Linked DNA regions of Homo sapiens: region 2 is linked to region 1. Evidence: promoter capture Hi-C in 16 types of primary human blood cells and fetal thymus (Javierre and others, 2016). All regions are on one chromosome and are shown on one strand. Each heading gives the region's core, a stretch centred on a gene start or on the middle of the fragment in contact. The rest is flanking DNA. Distances are from core to core; before and after follow the strand shown. Region 1 holds the start of SOX14 (SRY-box transcription factor 14). Region 2 has its middle 150 kb from the start of IL20RB-AS1.

Region 1 (5,353 bases), core at 284-2,783:
GTCCAAAGCCTATCCGAGGAGAGTGAAGGGGATATAAATAAAGCAAAACTGCCTACTTTTTTGTCCAAAGGGGGTACAGTCGGAGATTTGTTTTGGGAGAGTCGGGATAGGGGCAGCTGTGTAGCTGACATAACGTTTGCAAGTTTCCGGTACCTGTCTGCGCCTTGGGTCCGGGAGGACGCCCCACCCTTCCCCCTGGAAGAGAGAGGAAAAGTCTGGGTGGTGTAAGGGACAGCGGCAGGGCTGACCCCGGAGGCGTCTGCAGGCCGGGGCTAGGCTCAGAGGACAGGGTGCAGACCCGGCTTTCAGACCACGCCTCAGGTCCGGGCCGGGCTGGGGGTTACATGGCCGTAGCGTGGGCTGACGAATAAGGGTCTATGCCAGTCTTGGTCATGCCTGGGAAGAGGATGTAGGCGACGGGGGGCTGCAGGGTGGAGGCAGACCAGGCGGTACAGTTACAGGGCACCACGTAGCCAGGGTTGGTGGGGGACGGGTGCGTGTGCGTGTGCTGGCTGGGGCAGCTGAGGCTGCCGAAGGCGCCGTTCTGGTAGCCCAGGGTGGACGCGTAGGGCAGAGCGCCGGTAGCCAAGGTGTGGGGCACTTCGCCCATCTTCTGGATGGCGCTCGAGCTAAACTGCGCGGGGTCCAGCAGGGAGTAGGGCGCCGAGGCCGGCGGCAAGAAGGCCCGGGCTTTCTCGGGCGCGCTCAGGAGGCCGTCGGAGGCCCCCACGGGCAGGCCAGCCGCCTTGAGCGGGTCCGTGTCGCCCAGGTAGGGCAAGGGGAAGACATACCTGTCCTTCTTGAGCAGGTTCTTGGGCTTGCGCCGAGGTCGGTACTTGTAGTCAGGGTGCTCCTTCATGTGCTGGGCGCGTAGCCGCTTGGCTTCATCGATGTATGGCCGCTTCTCTGCCTCGGACAGAAGCTTCCATTCGGCACCTAGGCGTTTGCTGATCTCCGAGTTGTGCATCTTGGGGTTTTCCTGGGCCATCTTGCGCCGCTGGCCCCGGGACCATACCATGAAGGCGTTCATGGGCCGCTTGATGTGGTCTGAAGGTTTGGACATGGTCCCGGCGGCTAGGTGGGTGGGGGTAGGGAGTGCAAGGGTTCTGCAGACGAGCCTGGGCGCGGCTGGCCGTCTGTCTGTCCGTCCTGAGCCGGGGTTCTGCGCTCCCCTCGCCTTGGCGCCGCTGAGGGGAAGCCAGAGAGAAGCGCTGACCCCACAAAGTTCAGCTGATCATGCCAGTCCCAGCGCCCAGGCAGCCCCGGGGGAGCGAGTGGGGGCAGAAAGGGCGGGGGAGGAGAGGGCGATCGGCCGGGGGGCTTCAGGCACCAGGGGCTGGGACCCAAGTATCGGAGTCTCCGGGATTAAGTGGCCAGGTAATTTTTTAGCCAGGGCAAGAAGCTCCTCCTTCTCCCCCTCTCCACCTTTGCCTTCTCTAGTTCCCTTCTCTCCTCTTGCGTTTCCAGTCGTGGCTCCCCCTTCCCGTGGCTTTCCCGGAGCTGCCGCGCCTAGCGCTGCACCTGGCTGAGAATGCGGGGAGGCTGGTGAACGAGAGCCAAAAGCGGCGAAGTTCAAAGGCGAGGTGGGCCGGGACTGCACGCACTCTGACATAAGCGCGGGGCGGCGACTCCCCAACCTGGGCGCCAATCAGCAGCAGAGAAGCCGAGGGGGCGCACCTGCCAACACGCCGGTGCAAGAAACAGAGAGCGCGACTGGTGGGGGCGGGGAGAGGTGTGAGGGACAGAGGCAGAGAGAGGGCTAGAGCAGAGAGGCTAGCTCTAGACTGGGGACTTCGGTTCCACATTGTCTCGGGCACTGTCAACAAATAAAACTCTTCCGCGTCTCCTGTTTCCTTTCCCGGTTGTGAAAGAGAATTAGGGCTTGAAATACAAAGGCCGGGGAAGGGACAGCAAAGGGAGCGAGGCGAGAGCTTGTGTTGATAAATAGGACAGCTTTGCCGCGAAATGCAAGGACAGCACTTTGCCCTCTTGTCAAATATCCTTGGAAGAGAAAAATAACATATAGCAGGCTCAGGGTAAAAGCGAAATAAACTTTTCGCGCCCCACCCTCGGCGGTGCTTTGGCAGTGTTCTCCCGGGAAGCCCCTGCAACTAGGCATCCACCCCTGCCCCAGGATGCGGCGCCCGGGCGTAGCGCTGGGACCCTGGGTGGCTGAGCAATGTTGTCTGACCTGCTCCTGGAAGGCCTCGCGTCAGGCAATGCAGAGATTTCGAACCCTAGTTGGTGAGCCCTTAAAAGCACTACGACCTGTTCTTCACTTTTGGGGCAGGGATGGGGCTGAGATTTCTATTGCAGTTCCCATTTATGTTATTATTATTTAGTGTCTTTAAACCTCCAACTTTTACTCCACAAATGTTCATACCGTAAGAAGAGCCTAGAGGCTGGGTATGGGGCTCTTCCCGGTGCCCCTTCTGCAGCGGCCCTACAGCGGAGTCTCACGGTGTATCGCAACCAGGGTCGGTTTGTCCCTGGGCGCCTCTTCCCACCCAGGGAGGCTGCGAGACTCGTTTCTTGCGTCAAATGAGCATTCTTCGGGTAAAGAGGACGAAATAACCCGCAGAGCCAACCTGCGCGCCTGTTTCCTTTGAATAATTGCCTGCCCGATGTGAAATGCCCTTGGGGGAAATATTTATTAAATGGAAACCATTGTCCCAGGCCCGGCGGGACCTGCGTGTGTTCCAGGCTTATTGGCTTTTGCACCATTCTCTCTTGGGAGGACCGGCCAGAAACGCGCAAGGCTCCGTTGGCTCCGAGGGGCTAGGAGTGGGGGAGGGTGACAGGGAATGAGGAGGCCGGAAGGGAGGATCTTTCTCTAGCATGTAGTGTATCAAGTTTGAGGAGAAGACTTTGCTTCCCCTTCCTAAAATTAGAAAGACGCGTGGAACTTCTCACCCTTGGCGCACTTTTCAGAGAGGTGGGCAATATCCCCATTTTACAGATTAGGAAACTAAGGTTGAGAAAAACTAGGTGATTTGTCAAAAGTGACTCTGGGAGTGATGCTTGATGTATAGGATTTGAAAATCCCTATTTTCACCCCCATTCCACTAGACGTCACGCCTAGGGATTTCATGGCTCTGCAGCCCAATGTGGAACACCTGATGAGACTATTGGGGCAATCGACACCTGCCATGCAGATAAACCACGCTGGAAAGACTGATCCTGCGCTTGATTTGCTTAGCCATGGGCTCCACCTCCGAGGGCTGGCAAACAGGTGCACAGCCTTTACATTCCTTCCCAACCCCAGCTCTGGCCTTTCTCCAGAGCCTCCATCCAGCCCTGTAACCCTGCTTTCTCTGCAGGAAGTTTCATTTAGCTTAGGGTCTCAGGAAGCAAACGCACTTTTCAGCCCAGTCTGGAAAGGGTTTCCGAGCGTCGCTGGCAACCCCTACTCAGGTCTGACCAGCGGTGCGCTATATTCAGAGCCAGCCAGGGATAGGAGATTCAGGAATCACCCAATTCTAATTCTACTGGGCGATCCCGACGGCTTTGGGAAGGAATGAGAGAAATACTGATATCTGCAGCGAGATCCAGCGTTCGGAGGGGACCCGCCAATCTCTCACTCTAGAACCCCCCAGGGGACACCAAACGCACACCCAAAGTTCTGGGTTAATGCAAACCAAGCTCTTGGAAATTACTCAGCAAGGGGATCTGGCACAAGGTCCTACGTCCTTTCTCTCCTCTCAGTTTCCAGGACAATCCTTTCCAGTTGCCCGGAGGCAGTTCGGGCAGGCGAGCGCCTTCCTGCAATTCCTCATATTTCCTTCTCCTCAAACGCCCGAGCTCCTCTCCAAGCTTCTTGTGTTCAGCCTTGGGTCGCAGCCAATGCGCAGTCCAATTCGCAATGAGGAGCGGAGTGATACGAAGGGCGTTCGATGGTGGGCAGGGCGCCAGCTGACCCCCCGACGTTTCGGAGACCCCGATTGCCTGGTCCAGCTGCACTGACCTAGGAAGGGGCCAGCATCAGCGCTGCGCGTCTTGGCCTTGAGACAGGAACTCCGCGCGGGGAGGGAACGCAGGGATGAGGGCTGCACCTTCCAGGCCGTGCATCAGCTTGTCTCCTAGGCGAACTGCAAAGCCACGCACACCCCTTACGCAGTACCGGTGACCACCGGTTTATTCAACACTCTTTAGAGCTGTGGCGGGAGCAGGAGTTCCCGTGATCCTGGGGTCTGGCCTGGTGCTGTCTCCAGCAGGTGCCTCTACTGCGCTGCGCTGTCCCTTCACGCTGTGCCTCCCTGACGGGTCTAAACCACCGGGTAGCACGTCCTGGAGACGTGACCCCTGAGGAGAGTCAGCAACTTCGGTCACAACCAGAACAAGCATTAGGACAGAGGTTGCCTAAATACTCCTCCTGCTTTGTCCACGGCCTGAAGTTTGGCCCCAGGCTACCAGTTCATTCTCCTCCAGGGCTGGAGATAACGCTTGGATGAGGTCTTTCCGCTTGCACATTTGCCTGGAGAAGCTGTGCACACGTTCAGTACACAGCGCAGCTACTCAAGGTCCGCTGCGTGCCAGCCTTAGCAAGGCGTCCGAACCCCCGAGCAACAGGGATTTTGTCAGGGAACCGCCGCTGTTTCCCGGAAGTGAAGGAAGAGGCCTCTAAGGGCACCGACCTAATCTGCTTCTCTCCGGGCCTTTCGTCTCCCTCCAGGGCGCAGAGCGTCCAGGATGCGCCTTCCTCTTTTCTGGCTCTGGGCCTCTCCTTTCACGCAGCTCCTGCGCGTACCTCAGGTATCAGTACAAGCCTCTCACTGTCTATGGGGAGACTTTTCTGTTTCCTGGGCTGGGCTAGGACCCCTTCTATGCTCTCACTCTCACACTTCCATTTCAATCCCTGTTCCCCAGCCTCTTTTGGGTCCCTGTCGCAGTCGGTGCAGCCCACTAGACTTCGAGCTTCTCTGGGGCTGTGGCTGCGTGTTATTCATCTTGGGTTCAATTTCCGCATAATTCCAAACTCAGAGAAGACTCTCAGTAAAGTTTCCTTCTGCCCAGGCCGAGGTGGATCTTCCCGATAGGTCTTTCCCCGCCTTGCAGCTGCAGGCACGGGGCCCGAGACACAGCCTGGTAGAGCCAGACGCGGCAGTCTGGGGCCCCAGAGGCCTGCACCCACCTGCCTTGCCACAAGGCTCCGCCCCACCCTCCGGCCCCCTCCTCTCTGGTGGGCAGAGGTCACTACTCCAAGGCCTCTGGGGCTGGGGAATGGCTGAGTGCTGGGAGTAAGGCGCACAGAACGTGGCTTAGAGAACGCGGTTGGGGATGGACGGAAAGGAGGCAGCTGGCTATGCCTCTCGAGCTCCAATGGCTTTCCAAAGAGGCCAGAAGAGTCACCTGC
Region 2 (4,955 bases), core at 345-2,844, 630 kb after region 1:
GAGCAAACAGCAGAGCTGTGACCACCAGAAGCCCAGCAAGGACGCTCCGACACAGATTCTAGTTATATGTCATTCTTGTACATTCGTAAAAATAGGAATATAAGTGAAATAAGTTGGTATGGTATTTCTAAAACATCTTCATATTCTAAGTCCAGCTCTTCTGAATTGCTTTTCAACTGAGGCATTAATGATCATGGTTTTCTACCCAATATACCATCACGAACATTGATGAACAGACATTTCCTGGGAGTGCTCCACTATTGCCTCTGGGATTTTCTTCCAAGCCTCAGACACCATTCTACAAGTTTAATGTTGAAGCTTTCTTAAAATTGCCATGCAATAAAACTACTTTGTGACTGAGACTCAACTGAAGGAATTGTAAGATCCCATTGACTAGAAGACACATCCTGAATCCATGCATAATTAAAGCTCTGATAGAAATAATAATTATGCCTGTAATGCTACCCTGGGTAAAAAGAGCAGGGATGCAGAGCAGGGACAAGGGACACATGTCCATTTTGATGAAAGCAGGGTCAGAAACCAACTGAGTAGAGAGAACAATTGTGACCCAATCATTTTCCAACATGGCACCTTTTGTTTGTTGCCCCTAGGGATTTATCTATCCCAAGGCAAAGCACCATGGTCAGGAGAGAAATGTGTGTCTGTTTTTTGGGTTTTGTTTTGTTTTTTTGTTTTTGTTTTGTTTTGTGGTTTTTGTTTTTTTGATGCAGGGGGTGGATGGAGTGTTGCTCTGGTCACCCAAGGCTGGAGTGCAATGGCATGATCTCAGCTCACTGCAACCTCTGCCTCCTGGGTTCAAGTGATTCTCCTGCCTCAGCCTCCCAAGTAGCTGGGATTACAGATGCCCACCACCACCCAGGCTATTTTTTGTATTTTTAGTAGAGACGGGGTTTCACCATGTTGGCCAGGCTGGCCTCAAACTCCTGACCTCAGATGATCCGCCCACCTCAACCTCCCAAAGTGCTGGGATTACAGGCATGAGCCACCACGCCCAGTCTATGCCTCTGTTTTCTAATGGGAGAGTATGAAGGCAGATGGCAAAGAAGAATCTGCAGACCTCAGGCATGTCCCCAGGTGGATAAATATTAGGAAAGAAGACATGTGGAATCTGGGGATCTAAACCATCTGTGTGCCCTCACGCCTCCTGGGAAGTCTGTGGGTTCACCAGTGGGGATGCATTCACCAGTCTGAAGACCATAACACCAGAATGGCTTGATGTCTAAAATGCACTGAAATAAAACTTTAGAGTTCTGGTTTAGAAGGCATGGACTGCCTCACTGCTCCTACATGCTGAGGGCTCCCTCATGTATGCTGCAGTGTCTTAGGAGAGGCTTCAATTCCCAGTCACCATTATCCACCAAGCTGGAATGATACCAGACTTTTCCTCCATTCCATGAGCCAAGAAACCACAAAGGAGACAAGGGAGGAACCCCTCCTAGCACTTTTAGCAAGACAAATACTGATTTTCCCCCATACAGAGTCAACATAAAAGCTCCCTTGCTTCCATCACAGTTTATGTTCCAAAGACCTGTCACATAAACATCTAGCAGGGAGCGAGCATGTCTAGGTGCTTATGAAAATGCATGATGTTTTAACAACGTTTTTTTGTGCTTTAATCCCCCTTTAAAATTAAGGTTCCTAAGTCCTGAGGCTGCTGCGATAGGATCTCAGCCATCTGCCCCTGCCTGTGACTATGGCATCCTCTGATTAAACAAAGGGAGCCGGGCTGAAGTCACAAGGGTTTTATTTCACAGGGGACCCATGCATTCTCTAAGGGCCTCATTTAGGAATACAAACAGTTTTTAAAATGATATTTTTTGAACTAAGTGAATACATTGTCTTCCTCATCTCTTCTGGATTAGAGAACTGGGAAAAAGGTCCCCCCAGGACTTCTGGAGCTTTTCTATACTCATAATTTCAGATACAACTTCTCCCCTAGCAGCTCCCATCCACTATCAAAATGGTATTTCTGTTTGCACAATCGTCTGTCCAGTTTCTTGTCATCTTTCTGATACATTCTATATATTCAGCTATACTGAATACTGTATTCCATGAACACATCTGATCTAACTACTTTAGCAGACTCAAATTTTCACAAGCCACAAAATCACATTTACCAAAAGAAATGGAGCTTAATTTTCTGTAACTCTACTCAATTTCTACCTTGAATTCTCATTTCCATTTGACAGCAGAAAACACTTTCAGGTAAATTCAATCACACTAGTGATTACTCAGACATTTTAAGTTTAACTCAGTCAAATTTTGTGTGTCTTTTGTCCTGCACTCCACCCCTGCTCCATACTTGCGTTTTCAGCAAGGGGAACAGCTAAGTTCCAAAAACAGCACCCCAGTCCAGGACATGAGAGCAGGCACTAAGGGAGCCTCTGAGCCATAGCCACCCTCAGCTCTCTGGTAGTATCTGCTGACCTAAGCTCCTCACCCTTTATCAGCCATTTGTGCATGTCTCCTGGGGATGTGGGGGCTTTCTGATGCTCTCCATCAACATTCTGCAGCTTGTGACAATCTACTTCTCCCATGCTTTTGTGGCCCTGGGGAATATTAGCAAGACTGCTACTTCTTACATTCCAGAGGGTAAGTAGGTTACAAGTCATTACTACTCTCAGAAACCCAAATTTAAAGGAGTTTCTAGGTATCCATCCTGGTACCCAGCCCAAGGTAGGGCATGAGGAAGAAACCTCACTCCATTTCTAATCCTCTTGCCCCTTTCCCAAATCAACCTCCTGCCCTCTGGATCTGTTACTTATGCCACCACTTGTGGTATGGCCCTCATGGCAATTTTGAAAATTTGTGAGGGTATTTCCCCCAAAACATTTTATTTCAAAAGCTTTCAAATTTATGGAAGAGTTGCAAGAATAGATCCAACTATAATTACCCAAATAGTAAAGAAGTTTAGCATTAATACTATTGTCTATTATATGATTTATTATTCAAGTGTCCCCAGTTATCCCAGTAATATTCCTTACAGCTGGTTTATAGTTCCATCCAGGATTCAATTAAGGATCATATATTGAATTTAGTTCTCAAGTCTCTTCAATCTCTATTACTCTAAAATAGTTCTGGCACTTAGTGAGCAGGAGCCAAGAATAAAAGACATCTCACAATGCTTGGGATGGTCCCACCAATAAAGAATTGTTCTGCATCCCGCATGACTTGAGTACTTTTCCCAGACAGTCATATAGGTTTAAAAATCACTTATAATTATTTGCACTCAGGGCCTAATTCCATTTTACATATAAACACACAGAAATTTTTGCACACTTTAAACATAAAATATACACTGAATTTTCTAGGACAGCAACAATAATATAAATCAGGAAAAGGTTGAACCCTCTTTTTTAGAGACCTTCTCAGGAGTTATTCATTTCAGAAAAAGTATGTACCAATGGCAATACCATTTATGATATTTAAATCACCACATAACACCTCTAGATCAGTCTGTGTTCAAGGCCGTGATATTCACTGTGGCTCAATGTTCACGTTCAAGCATAGAACTACATTACTATATTCTCTACTGTAGCGGTTGGTGTCTAAGCACTTAAATGTTGAAACATATGTTTTAAGTAGCTTTTATTTTGTTTTTCCTTTATATCTGTTAGGGTGTTATATTGATCGTTAAATTACATAGTAGATCAGATTTACCTATTGGTTTTATCTGAGGATAATAAAGGGGACTTTGCAAAGTACCCATTATAAAAAGGGGTTTCAAACAAATTGTCAAAAATGTATAAGTTACTCAGGGAAGTATGAACATGGTAATTAAGGAATTATTATTAATTATCTCTAGTGTAATAATCATATTGAGGTTATGTTTTCTAAACGAGTACTTTATTTTAAAAGATTACATCCAGAAGTATTTTCAGATAAAATGCTATGATTTGCCCTGAAATCATCAGGGTGGTAGAGTGGGTCAGGTAGAGATAAAACAAAAGGTAGCACGTATCAGTAATTGTTGAAGCTGGATGATGGCTACATCGGGTTCATTTTACTATTCAGTCAACTGGTGTGGATTTTTGAAATTTTTGGTAATAGAAAGGTTGAACTAAAAGAAAAAGGGAGTCTGCTGGGTTTGATGGGGTTGAGAACCACTGATTTGTGATGAATTATATTTCCAGCTTCCTTTAGGACCTGCTCTTTTGATATATATTTTATAAAATATATATCATATATATATTTGAAAGCATTGGCTCTCAAGAATGTTGTCTTTGTTAGGAGTTTTTTTAAATGTATTTGAAACTCAACATCCAAGGCTTGACTCTTTCTGTGTTCCTTTGTATATTTCCTTTAATGAATATGGCAGACTGTGCAGGAGAGAGGAGAAAGGTCACGGGGCAGAAGGGTGGAAATAGTGGGGACAGAGAGGTTTGGGAACCACTGGGCAAGGGAGAAAAAAATCTTGATAAATATCCATTGTCCCACTATACTGCCTCTCTGTATTTCAAAATAACTCTCCTGCTTACATTAGCTCCTTCCCTGGTGGGCGAAATACTTCCAGCTACAGCATGATGGACAAGTCGCAAGGTGTCGGCCTCTGCCCTCCTCTCCAGCCAGCCCTCCTCTAGCCCCAAGCAAAGGGTCTTGTTCTCTTCCTCTCTCCGCCTGTTTCTAGTCCGGTTTCTCAAAAATGGAACCTACTCTGGGTGAGGCATTTATTTATGAATGGGTGTCAGGCTGGGTGCTGAGGGGACAGAGAACAAAATAGACGGCATTTGGCCTCAGAAGGCCCAGTCTAATAAGGGTGAGGTGTGTGCAGAGGAGCAGCCCATGACTGTGACAGCAAAGGCAGGGATCCTGTCTCAGGTTCTGAGGCTTCTGCTGAACAGCTCCTGCTATGAGTTTGCCCTCTCTGAGAAGCACTCCAACCTCCTCCGGGAGCCTACAGTTGAATTGCATTGAATTCAATGAATCTTTACTTA

The links. The method cuts DNA at HindIII sites, captures the fragments that hold promoters and counts their contacts. A CHiCAGO score of 5 or more calls a contact.
Region 2: a contact is called between a fragment that was not itself captured here and the fragment with the promoter of SOX14 in region 1, in 1 of 17 cell types (fetal thymus). The highest score is 6.7, in fetal thymus.

The regions. Positions count from the first base shown.
Region 1 is chr3:137,760,495-137,765,847 of GRCh38, reverse strand. SOX14 (SRY-box transcription factor 14) reads right to left here and starts at 1,533. Exons shown (of 1, transcript NM_004189.4): 1 at 1-1,533. The coding sequence starts at 1,063. The coding sequence ends at 341. RefSeq lists enhancers at 698-1,503, 1,504-2,309, a cis regulatory region at 1,643-1,649 and promoters at 1,107-1,784, 1,107-2,438. The HindIII fragment of the contact is 2,891 bases long and covers 925-3,815 here.
Region 2 is chr3:137,131,377-137,136,331 of GRCh38, reverse strand. No RefSeq gene overlaps it. Among named protein-coding and RNA genes, the nearest start is that of IL20RB-AS1, 150 kb to the right of the region's middle. The HindIII fragment of the contact is 2,548 bases long and covers 321-2,868 here.